Regions from separate parts of the Homo sapiens genome. Here region 2 is linked to region 1. The links are contacts of gene promoters, found by promoter capture Hi-C in human tissues and cell types (Jung and others, 2019). All regions are on one chromosome and are shown on one strand. Each heading gives the region's core, a stretch centred on a gene start or on the middle of the fragment in contact. The rest is flanking DNA. Distances are from core to core; before and after follow the strand shown.

Region 1 (6,507 bases), core at 2,026-4,525:
TTTTAACCCAAAGAGCCTTATTAAAAGAAAAAAATAAATTATAGCAAAATGACAAGTAACTCATCTGCCAGTCACCCGTCAAAAAAGAAACTTCTATGCAATTTTTTTCTCCAGCTTCTAGAAACCCTCTGAAATTCAGCATCTATTTTTCTTAACAATTAATAATTATTATTCCTTTTTATACAATCACTCCTTTTTATACAAATCTTAAGATTTTAAAAATTTTAAAACTTAAGCCTACTACTTAAAAGAAGTGTTAATTGTGAGTACATACATATATGTGAGACGTTTTATTTTGGAAATGAGAAATTCAATTTCAAATATTCAACAAATACTAATAAAAAGAAAACAACTGAGTAAATCTTATTTTAGTTATAATTGTGAACCAACCGGTAGTTACAATGGTCTTTAAATATTGAAACATACTATTTTCAGGAAATTTACAAAGGAAAACAGGCTTTTGAAAACCATATTGATTGTAGACCTTTACTTATTATGAAAGACAAGTACATATCACTAATAATCAGAGAAAGGAGACATTTTCAACAAATCTAATTATGTTGCTTTCAAAGCTGTAGCTGTCAAAGGTTTTAACATTCTTGTACAGTCATTCCTAAATACGGGTTTAACTTTGAATGACTTACAACTTTTAATCAGGTGGAACAAACTATTTTTACGGTTTATAACAATAAATGTGGGTGTAGTTATGTCTGCTTTCGATATTGTTGCCATAAAAATCAGATTCTGGCAGTCTTGCTCCACACAAAACAATCTGTCTCTTGTTACTACTGCTTTTTGTTTCTTGGGATAATGTTATTTTTAAAAATACACAAATGTCTTTGAATGCAGTCTCCTAAAACGCTCCGTATCACGTATCAAATATTTTTTGGGGGGATTCTCTCCCCACCCCCTCTAGTTTTTGGTTCTTCAGGTTTAAGCTTGCCAATAATATTTTAAAAGACAAAAAAAAAAAAAAAGGCACTGATTCTGCTTAAAACCAAACCGTACCCGGGAAAGGAATTCAAGTACAATCCCTTCCCTAAGGTTTTAAAAACAAAAACAACGCAACAAACAAAAAAACCATCGTCAACTTTCAATCCTGTCAGTCACCTACGTGTAAGTGAAACTTCAGAAGCTGCTGATGGGGAGCCCGCGGTTGTTAAACGCTCCTAAGACTCCCACCTAAATCCCGCAGGAGCCCGCACTGAAACTGACAAACACCCGAGGGTTCACAAAGTGGCCACAGATGAGAAGAGGAACAAAATGCCATATTCCAGGAGGTGTATTTCGCTCCAACAATTACGTTGATCCCAGGGTGCCAAGCCAAAAGGGGTAAGGGAGAAAGAAAACTGTTAAGTATGAGCCCTTAATGTGAAACCTAACCTGTTGGTTCTCTTAGGTATCAGATTTTGGAAGTGTCTGTAATGACAGCCAGGAAAGCAAACTAATGGCCAACGGCCCACTGGGTTTGAACACCAGAGTCCTGTTACCTCCTCACAGATCAAGTACACAACACACACACACACACACACACACACACACGAAGTTGCTCCACGTGGAACTGCTCTGGAACCAAAACACACGCCCGGGCGCTATTCTGCACCTTGGCAGAAAGGGCAGAGGGACCTGCACCTTCCTCCCCTGCCCTCAGGTTAAGATTCATGAATGACTCTCTAGGCCCGCTCGGGATGGCGGGGAGAGGCGCAGGAGACGCGGTGAGAGAGGACAGTCTCCACACCACTCTCCCGCACACACTCTCACCCCAGGCGCAAATCCGTTGTCTTCATAGGAAGGAGAAAGAGGGGTGGTGGTGAAGGGAAACACTATCCTCCCAAGCAGGGAAGAGATGACAAAAATTAAATTGCGCTCTCTGCTTTCGCCCCAGCTCTGCCACCGGACTCGGTCCGCAAATTCCCTAATCGCTCCGAGCTGTTCAGAATCTCGCAAACAAAGGGAGAAAACTCTTTCAAGTGCTACCAAACGAAAGTTCGGGTTGCTGTGCGGCGCAGAATAAAACAAGCACACACACGTCTACTTCCAAACCTCGCTTCACCACGCTAAAAATCCGAGCCATTTCAAGTTCCACTGCCTCCCCAGACCCAGCAGGCTTGGAAGGAGAGAAAAACCTGCTCTACCCAGCCAGGTCCCTTCCTTTGGAGAAGTTATAAGCCTTCCATGGCACCCGCTACTCGAGCCAATGAACGCGACTGCTCTGACAAGGCGCCTCTAATTTCACCGACCCTGGCAAACTGCAGGAGACATTCAGTCCACGCCACATAAAAACTATTAAAGTGGGATCGCCGCAGTTGAAAAGCCCGATCAGTGCCTGGAGATTAGAACGCGAGCCTTTAAAGTACACACGCACCCGGCACCGGGAAAGCCCAGGCGCCTGTGACCCTCCGAAGGACTCTGGGTCAGCATCCTCGCGCCTGGACCATCTAGGGGGTCATCAGAAAGTAATACACGTCATAAGAAAGATGTGGGGGAGACCCCGATGCTCGCGCCTCTGCCAGGTGGAGGCGGGGTGCAGGTAGAAGCCGCGCGCTGGACTGCTGGATGAACTCCGTTACGCGCAGGCTCCGCGCCGACCCCGGAAGGGACAGGCAGGCTCGGAAGGGACCCTTGGGGCTTGGGGACGTCTTCTAGGGCAGAGAGCACCGCTGCGGTCCGAGCGGCCCGGGCCCTCAGGCGTGGGGCACCCGGCCTCCAAGCGCCCCCCGGGGACGCAGGCGCCCACGCACCGTCCAGCTGCGCGTCCTCAGTACCCAGCGCTCGGCGTCCCCGGCGGAGCCTCGCGCACTTTCCCGGAAAGTTTGGGGGTTCTCTCAACTCAGGCTCCCCCGGGAGCCCTGGGGCGGGGGTTGGAAGAAGGGGTCACTCACCTCGTCGCCCGGTCCGCCTCGGGTTCCCGAAGTGTCTGTCCCAGCCGCGGTTCAGTGCGTCCGTAATTAAGTATTTATTCTCGTTCCTTCCAGTGTCGAAGTTTCCCCTTCGCGCTGTGCCTCTGGTGAAAACAGGACATCCCCTTCGGCCACCCCACAACAAATAGCGTACACAAGCGGGGGAGAAGCGGGGCGGAGGGAGAAGCCGGCTCCGAGGGGGAGGAGGAAAGGAGAGGAGCCAAAACTCCGGACTGCGACAGGGGGGAAAGGAGAAGAAAAGAAAATGAGAGAGCGCGCCCAGCCGCCGCAGTCGTCACTCCCCGGCTTTTCCCGCAGCTCTTTCCCCCTCTCTAAGGCAGCGACAACTTCACGTGGACAGGATGGAAGTTTTGCGCGGAAGCCGGGAACGGCCGGAGCGTGCGCCGCGCTGCCGGCAGCCTCGCACTTGCGCAGGGAGGTGGGGCGGGGGCGACGTCGCCACCGGCTACTGCGGGCTCGTGAGGCCGCCGGGGGCCTCGGGGGAGGCCGCCAGGGACGCGGGGGGCGGCGGCGCGCGGGGGACCCACTCCGTTTTTATTTGACCTCGGGTGACTGCCTATTGTCATGGTTTGCGATCTCGCGTGGGGACCGCCCAGGGCCTCGGGGCCCTGGATGTCCCGGGTGGCGCCGCCGTAATCTCCGTGCCCTCCGCGCCGCCCCCACCCCGCCCCCACCCGGGCCGACTCGAGCGGCTGCAGCCTCCAGGCTGAGGGGAGGGACCCGCGACCGCGCTCTCCTCCCTGGGCCGGAGAGCCACTGTCGATCCCCACCTGCTTCTGTGGGGCAGCCCCCGGAATTGCCTGGAACTCTCTCGCTACCCAGTTCCCCTGTGCAGGCCACTGCGGGCCCCCTGCCGGACTCCTTTCCACTTACCCCAAGGGAGGAGACAGAAGGGACTTCGCCTACTTGCAACAACGTGAAATAAAAACCAACCCAGACCAGACTGGGGCGCTTTTTCTGACGGGAGGAAATACCCTTTTCCGTGGAGATATATGTTATGAAGGACTAAGCGGTCTGGGGATAGGCTGTGCTGCGAAGGGCCTGGGCCCCTTCCAGTGCTGCTGGGTGCAGGTATAGGCATCCGTCCCAGACGCCCAAAGGTCAGGCAGCAACGACTTACTTCCAAGGCGGCGTCAGAGCTTCTCTAGGCACATTGCTGAAATGACATTTCGTGTCTAAGCCTTCTGCGCATGCACTACGCGACTACATAGGATTTACGATTTTATACCCACACGTGTGTATGCCACAACCAGGGGACACAGCAAAGGTAGACGGAATAAACAATCCATAAATTTTGCATCCATTTAATCACCTCTTCCAAAAACCTATTGTCTATTTTAGCGGCACCTTCTCTGTCATATTGATAATAAATGTTTTAATTTATTGATAAATCACTGAGTGTCAATCATTGTATTGGTCACTTATGGTACATGAGTTCATTTAACTTCCATGACAACTCTACGGTGGTCATTATTAAGCCGGTATAAAAGATGAGGAAACCAAAGCCCAAAGAATCATGAGTGACTTTTCCAAAGACAAATCCAGTGGTCTCTAATCACAAAGCCTATGATACAACAACCTCTACATTACCTTAGGTGTGGTCTAAGAGATTACAGATTAATCCGTAGAAATTACTCCCATTCAAAGAAAGTTTAGTTTTAATATATTCACTAAGTTACGTTCTGAAAAAGGTTCAGAAAAAAGATTTCATCCTCTACTTTAGGTTGGTCTTATGCAACTGATATGAGCACTGTCTAATTCAAAAGCAGTATCAACCCTGAATACTTATGGTTACAATTTATTTTTTAATGAGTGGGGAATTATCTACAATGCTTAAGAGGCTCTAGAAAAGGTGGTGTTGTAAATTTAAAATGATAAAGGCAGTCGTTGCTGCTCTCATCACTTACTGGGTGTTCTTTCCTGCAGATTTATTTTGGAGGGTGTAGGCATTGCCAGGCATAATGTTTCCTTTTCTGGTTCTCAAGGTAGAAAGGGTTCTGGCAGTGGGGTTGGCACAAAGCGGATTTGGAGCATGGTTGAGAGCACATTCTGGCCTAACGAGGAATGCCAGTTAATATACACTGGAGAGAAAAATATGAATGGACAGATTTAATTAATTTTGCAGATTTATTTTCTCCATTTCACATGTGAGAAAACTAAGGGCTCAGAATTTTTAGAAGCTTGCTAATAAATGGCAGACCTGAGTTTCAAGCCAGCCTTTATTTAAGTCCACTCTTAGTCACTGTGATGCTATTATTAGTATTAATGGTATTCAGAAAAATAGTAATTCTTTTAAATATGTAATATATTACAAGCCAAATATGCAATTTAAATGTTTTGTGAATCATAGTGTCTAAGAATGTTCTGTGGCTATAGCAAATATCATGTAAGGATTAAGTACAATGATGAATTTAATACTGTCCTCAAAAGGCAACAACATTTTGAATTTCATTTTGGCATAAAACATTATGTGCTAGTTTCACCTACAAATAAAGGTGGGAGATGTATGATTTGAATAAAATAAAAATTCATACTTTAGCATATTGTTAACATAAATATAGGGTGGGTTTTCTTAGCATGTTTCTTTGTACCCTTCTAAAGTCAGATTTTTCAGTTACACTGACCTTGCTTTCAAGGTCACTTTGCTCCTGCATAGTTTTTTGTACATCTAGATAAGAATACATGTACAGAAATTATTTTTAAAATCCAGGATAATATATTAGTTATTTGACTTCATATTACTACCTTCTAATAGTTGTCTTAAATATACATATATTAACATGGACACCACTAGGTGTCAGATAAAACGTCAATTTTCAGTACACATTTGAAATAAGTTTAACATAGGAAACAGAATTTTAGGGTTATAAAGGCAAAAATGTATTGTTTGCTTAAATGAGGCCTTATTTCCAGCATTTACATTGAATATCACTTTTATAATTATAGCCATATCGCCTATATTATTGACTTAATATGTATCTTTAAATAATCTATTTTTATTAAATAAGTTTATCTGATAAAGGACATTTTTTATAGTCACCATAAATGGAAAACTAATAAAACCCGCCATGAATAGAAGATGATCTTGCAAAGGAACCTATATTGTAGAAATAAAAGTTATTTCTCATGTACCACCTAAAATTATCTCACATACAGTTTGAGAAACATTGGTTTAAAGAATTACATTCCATATGTCCCTCAGGCTCACCAAGAGATATTTTCAAGCCTCCCCTTTTCATAACCGGAACAAAATGTTGTGTCCAATTTACTTTGAGGTATTACTTTTTAAATTCTGTGCTTATTTAATTATTGCTTTTCTTGTCTAAAATATACTTGAAGTCTCTGAAGTTGAGGCGTCTTTTTAAAATTCATGTATTATTTATTGTTTTACTTACTATCTTATTTGTGGTAAAATGCAAACAATTCATAAATGCACAATTAAAAAGCAAATCACTTTCCTGAAATATTGTACCGGTTACTCATTACCCTTCCCTAGCATCTATTAGCCCAGTAGTGCAATACAGTACAGACAATGAAGAAGAGAGGGAAAGTAGAACAGTGGGAGAAACGCAAAGGGCCTAGAAAG
Region 2 (6,507 bases), core at 1,154-3,653, 270 kb before region 1:
ATTTCAAGGTCCTAGTCTTTTGACACAGAAAAAGGGTAATGATCATAGATATTGACATTTTCTTTTTGTCAAGTTTTTAAATTTTCAAATCAAAAAGACTACTTTTAAGTAAAAGGGAAATAATGACGATTTATCATCTCAAATGTGCTACAAAATTCCAAGCAAAATAAACTTTATGTAAGTATACCCACACAATTGACCTGATTTTTTTTTTTTTTATATGGAATCTCACTTAGTCGCCCAGGTTGGAGTGCAGTGGCGCGATCTCGGCTCACTGCAAGCTCTGCCTCCTGGGTTCACGCCATTCTCCTGCCTCAGCCTCCCGAGTAGCTGGGACTACAGGCGCCCGCCACCACGCCTGGCTAATTTTTTTGTGTTTTTTGTATTTTTACTAGAGATGATGTTTTACTGTGTTAGCCAGGATGGTCTCGATCTCCTGACCTTGTGATCCGCCTGTTTCGGCCTCCCAAAGTGCTGGGATTACAGGTGTGAGCCACCACGCCCGGCCACAGTTGACCTGATTGTAAGTTACTGTGTGCTCAGAACAAATGGTAACTTATGTGGATAAGGATTTGATCCTTCTTTGCTGTTCTGAGTCTTAGTCCATCTTCAAATAATCTGCAAAGTTCCAGCGCAATATTACAAGATCTAAAGGTGAAATTTGGTGAGGGCATTTAAAATGCCTAGTTCTCAGAATAATAAATATATAATAAATAAAAATAAATTATTTATAATAAATAACTACATCATATTAACCTCAGAGTAAGTATGGTTTAGCATCTTGGGCCTCCTTAGTCCCCCTCAAAGTATTTTACTCATACTTACAGCTTCTGACTATATACATAGTGCTTAGCATTCAAAATTAATTTTTAAAAAAAATCATTAAATTTGAAAATACACCATACTAAACAAAGGTTTTTTGAAAGCTACTATTTATATTCATTATTGGGCTTGAAAGTATCTGGCAGTCAAATATTTCATACCTAGTCTCCAGATTTCCACACAGAAAGTGTTTAATCCGGTTCCAGTTTAAAGGTATAGTTGACTCAGGCTTCCTTTAATATACAAAACTCAGTGACTAGCCCAATCAGTACCTTCTGAGTATGTAACTTGAAAATCCAGGTAAGTTAAAAGTTCATATAATTTACAGAAATTACAGGGTTAGTAAGTTTTGAATAAATCTCCACCTACACGTATGGGTCCCCAAATTTAATCTGACTGGAAGTGCCCTGGAGTGCGGCATTTGGTTCACCAGGTTACATCCCCACTTACGGCACAATCTAGCATAGAATAATCACTCCACAATTCTTTCTTAAATAAATGGGAGAAGTCTAGACAAATGCTAATTCTTTACAGGATTACCACAATCATTTAAATTTTCTAACACAAGGTTACGATGATATAAAATAAAAGCATTCTAAATGGTGAGGAGAGTAAGAAGATATTTATGTCAAGAGTGGAAGGAAGGGAGAGAGAAGAGTGCAGAGACTGCCCAAGGAATGGCCTGGCCGGACAGGTATTTAGAAAATGTCTTCCCCTCTTTGACCAAGTATTGGCTGAAAGGAGTGCAGTCCAAACTGTAACCAAAGGAGGCATTATGCTTCCTGAAAAACATCCAGTAAAGGCATTGCAAGCAATGATAGTAACTGCTGGACTGGGCTTTAAGGAAAAGAGTGGAGAGATTTTACCCATTAGCATAAGGGTTGGAAATAAAGTTTTTCTCCCAGAATATGGAGGCACCAAAGTAGTTCTAAATGATGAGATTATTTCTTATTTAGAGATGGTGACATACTTGGAAAGTCCGTAGACTGAAATAAATCACTATTGAAATGGTGTCACATGAAGTTGCCCATTCCATTGAAGCTCTGAAATCTTTCCACATGTAAATAACTTCTGTGTTTCTCTTTTATAATAAATTAATGACATTCAAAAAAGTGGAGGAATCCTTGTAAATTTCCCTGGTAATCAGAAGTTATTTCTCTATTTAATATCCTCTCATTGTAATTTTTAGAGAAATTCCTCTGACATTAAATATTAACTCGCATGATTAATTTGTACATAGGTTGCCCAAAAACTTATCTTTTACTCCTGAGGACAACAGTATATCACACTTATTGGACCATAAGCTCCATAATTGAGGTTATATTTGAGGTTTTTCCAAATTTAACTTTTCTTTAAATTTATGCCTAGTTAACTATGCCTGTTGACTCTGGACGGTTGCCTGAGGATTACGGTCCAGTGAAAGAAACCTGAACTTCCATTATTTACATTTTTAGAAAAAGCTAAATAATTGTCCTTCAATTATTTTTCACTCTGAGAAACTTTGTAAGAATCATTTTGACCAAAAAGTGAAATACTAAAAACACTGTAATGTTTTGGCTTTAACAAATTTTAATAAAACTCAAACATTTGAAAATATTCTAGAACTAACTTTAAATACTTTAATTTTGTCTCACAAAGTGACCAAAAAGTGGTCACTGATATTTATCAGTTATAATTCACAGCAGTCTTTTCTCACCTTTGCCATCTCAAACTTCCTGAGACTTCTTTTCTGGAGGTTATTCTAACCGAAATAGCACTTTATTTAAACACACAGGATTCTCTTCTGTTGGGGGAGGGTAGTTTGGGCATCTGCCTTCTCTGCAGTTGGGCAGGATGCAGTGAAGTGTCTATTAGGAGGATTTAAATTTGTATCTTTTAAGGAATTATGTGAGGAACAGCTGCTACTATATATGTTGCAGTATCTACTGAAAGAATGGAGTGTCAAATTAGATGGTTCGGTTTTTTTTTTTTTTTTAAGAAAAGCACCCTGAGAGCTTAAATATTCAACATCAACAATGACAACATAATAAGCTAATGTTAGAGTTACTCTCTTGAGGAATTCTTTTTGTCAACAAGAGTAGAAATCATTTAATTCCAGTTATGGAGCCCAAGACAATTTTTGGCTGTAAGAGGTTTATTGAAATAAAAAGTTGTGTGAAAGTAAAACTGCCTTTCAAAGTCAGATGCAGAAGGATAGGGCGCTATGTATGTAACTGTACTGAATGCTTTTGAAAGCTACTGTTTTGATTCTATTGGTTTTAGTGCTTGTTTACTCAAGTCAGTAAAAATCATTTATGTTTCCTTGGGCACTTTATCTGGATGTGCAAGCATTTGTGTGGCACGCATATACAGTGAGAGTTCAATTTATCTGCAGAAACTCAATTATTTTATTGATTAAGTACAGTATTGTTGAATAGCTAAGTTCTAGGGTTTGAGTCAAATGAAATTCTTATCACATTCTAAAACACAACTAAAAAGCTATATACTCAGAGAAGAGAAAGTCAATACCAGTATTTTCTCATGAACTACTTCTACCAAAGATCCTGCCAGGTATTTTTGAAATACATATAACATAGTACCTGAACTAAAATAAATGTCTTTAAGTGCCATACATGACTACAACATGTTTTTGATATACCAATATTCATTTCAAACTTGCTAGTTAGTTACAAATTCATTATATGCTACTTTCACCTTCTCACTGCAGTGTTCTTTTAAAAGTTGGGTAGCAAATTTATTCCATCTGGCTTCTAATGTGCCACTACAAAAGCTAAAAGTTCATTTATTCCACTTATTTCCAGTAAAAAATAATTAACCAAATGAAATAAGCACTTTTACTTGGATACTACCACATAAAATTTCTTTTTTCTTTTTATACCTTTGAAAAGACTAATAATATTAAGATCCTCTTTACAATGCAACTCATCCATACTGATCAACAGAAAAACTAACCCCAAAAGTTATCGCTGTATGTAAAAAATTCAAGTTGTGGAAAGGTTAAGGTGTTTGTTATTACCAGATATATATATATAAAATCATTCTGTATTCATAAGTAGCAGGATCAATTTAAATCAGGTTTTAGAGAGGTGATTATTATTTGTTATCTAAAACTGAAAGCTTGCCTAGTAATATGAGCTTTCATACTGTCCACTGTAGAAAAAAAAGAATGCCGCTTTAAACAGACAGTAATTGTATTATTCAGTAAAAACATGACTCACCATAGAGAAAAACAACAACAACAACAGCAAAATGCTATTACACAGATTTCAGCACACACATTTATGGAATGTACTGAACCACTCATTTTTACTCTCATGTCTCAAATATAACTCAAACTGGATTTAAGACCTTGTCATTTAAAAAAAAAAACTTTCTAACTGGCGTGTTGGTGGGAGTGTAAATTAGTTCAACCATTGTGGAAGACAGTGTGGCAACTCCTCAAGCATCTAGAACTAGAAATACCATTTGACCCAGCAATTCCACTACTGGGTATATACCCAAAGGATTATTAATCATTCTACTATAAAGACACATGCACATGTATTTTTACTGCAGCAATGTTCAATAGCAAAGACTTGGAACCAACCCAAATGCCCATCAATGATAGACTGGATAAAGAAAATGTGGCACATATACACCATAGAATACTATGCAGCCATAAAAAATGATGAGTTCATGTCCTTTGCAGGGACATGTATGAAGCTGGAAATCGTCATTCTCAGCAAACTAACATAAGAACAGAAAACCAAACAATGCATGTTCTCACTCATAAGTGGGAGTTGAATAATGAGAACACATGGACACAGGGAGGGGAACACCACACACTGGGGCCTGTGATGGGGTGGAGGGCTAGGAGAGGGATAACATTAGGAGAAATACCTAATGTAGATGACGGGTTGATGGGTGCAGCAAACCACCACAGCATGTGTATATCTATGTAACAAACCTGCACGTTCTGCGCATGTACTCCAGAACTTAGAGCATTAAAAAAAAAAGTTATTTAAGTAACTCAATAACTTGGCTTTTCTTTCTCACACACTTGTAAAATTTTCAGCAAAGGATGGGTCAGAAGTATGTGCTCTGGAGCCACGCAAATCTGCTTCAAATTCCAGTTCTGCCATTTAGATAGCAGGTAACTTTAGATGTGATTTGTATGTTGTGGACCATACAGTTTCTCCCTTGCATAAATAATGTGATAAACACATTTACTTCAATACATTGTTAAGTAATTAATGGAAAGTCCAACATAAAATATCTAGAACAAGGTAGGGGTTCAGTAGTAGTAATCTCCCTCTCAATTCATAATATGACTATAGATAAAAACTTTAATTATGAAACTATGAGATAAAAAATAAATTTAAACATGCCATCTGAAAAAAAATGAAAGAGAAATCTCTATTTCAGCATAGTTATGCTTGACTGAGAAGTACTTCTGCCAAGAACCTGAACTATTTAGTTATTTCGAATTCTATTATCTGAATGTCTAATAACCTAGGTCATTAGCACACAGATGGCATACTTTATTGCAGTACACATTCAACTACTCTGAGGCTATTTTTCCTTGGGTCGTTTCATTTTGCTGTTGATTTTTATTTTCTATTCCTCTTATTTGCCATTTAGACACTGTCTTGCCATTTGAGGTTGAAAATAGAAACATAATTTTTAAAATGAGAAAATAAATGCATTTAAATGCATCAAATGTGCTTAAATAGTTCTAGCACTGTTTTATCCAGAAGGGAAAGAAACGGGGAATGATAATGTTAGCTAAAGTTAAGTTTCAGATTATCCACAAAATTAATTGATCCACGCTATCACCATGAATAGTGTCTGTGAATATCGTTTAGTGATTAACCTAGATAGGTTCCGGGTTAATAATCTGGAAGAGCTAATGCTGAAACACTAAAAGAACCAAGAGTCATGTACAGCTGTGGACAGTAAGGACAGCAAAGCCAACAATCTCCTCTTCAGAGACATTTTTGTTCTACATATGTATTATTCATGAACACAAATTAACTTTCTGCTTATATTTGTATATACAATTTTTCCTCTTGACAAGAACTTTATGCTTCTCTTGAGCTGAATTTTTATCTTTCTGTTTTCTCGAGGTTATCTACAGATACAGAAACCATCTAGGAGGTCTGGTGTTGGATACAACTATTTGTACCTTGTAAAATTCTTACCTCTAAATCATTAAAAAACAAATGAGTATCAGCAAGATTAAAAATCATTTCTTCCATGCGGAGTCCAAGGGTTACAGCCATGGGGGGATCCTGTAAAGAAAATGTACACATAATGAGGTAAAATTTCAGTAAGCGCTTATTATTAAAAATATTTTAAGCACATATTGCTGTGGTGGAAGAGGGAGAAGACTGCATGGGTTTTTACTGAAGATTCAAAAGATTTCTCAGTTTTCCAAAAAGGTGACTTTCCAGAAGGTTCAGACATACCAAATGCACAGACACACCTGGGAATTCAGACATACGTAACGATGACTCAGCATACATTTTCACATAAAGCTGTATGTTGAGGAGAGAAGGAGGAAGGAAATCAGCTAGTTCATATGACCCAGTTTACATATAATCTATGGAAAGTATTCTGGAGAAAGGTATTTGGATGGGGTGCTGAAGAATGGAGCAAACTTACTAAAAAGAAAGGATGTCTTTTTAAGAATAATGACAAATAATA

What was found. The method cuts DNA at HindIII sites, captures the fragments that hold promoters and counts their contacts. A contact is called where the count stands out against the background at its distance.
Region 2: a fragment that was not itself captured here is called in contact with the fragment with the promoter of EYA4 in region 1 in 1 of the 25 tissues and cell types used here (thymus).

The regions. Positions count from the first base shown.
Region 1 is chr6:133,238,125-133,244,631 of GRCh38, reverse strand. EYA4 (EYA transcriptional coactivator and phosphatase 4) reads right to left here and starts at 3,275. Exons shown (of 20, transcript NM_004100.5): 1 at 2,883-3,275. LOC124901231 (serine/arginine repetitive matrix protein 1-like) reads left to right here. Exons shown (of 3, transcript XM_047419612.1): 2 at 2,221-2,413; 3 at 2,976-4,312. The coding sequence ends at 3,846. RefSeq lists enhancers at 1,145-2,037, 2,038-2,932. The HindIII fragment of the contact is 6,618 bases long and covers 1-6,226 here.
Region 2 is chr6:133,505,691-133,512,197 of GRCh38, reverse strand. EYA4 (EYA transcriptional coactivator and phosphatase 4) reads right to left here. Exons shown (of 20, transcript NM_004100.5): 14 at 6,003-6,092. TARID (TCF21 antisense RNA inducing promoter demethylation) reads left to right here. Exons shown (of 9, transcript NR_109982.1): 7 at 4,877-4,954; 8 at 5,928-6,119. It also overlaps the pseudogene HSPE1P21. Among named protein-coding and RNA genes, the nearest start is that of EYA4-AS2, 52 kb to the right of the region's middle. RefSeq lists an enhancer at 5,848-6,507. The HindIII fragment of the contact is 8,455 bases long and covers 1-6,507 here.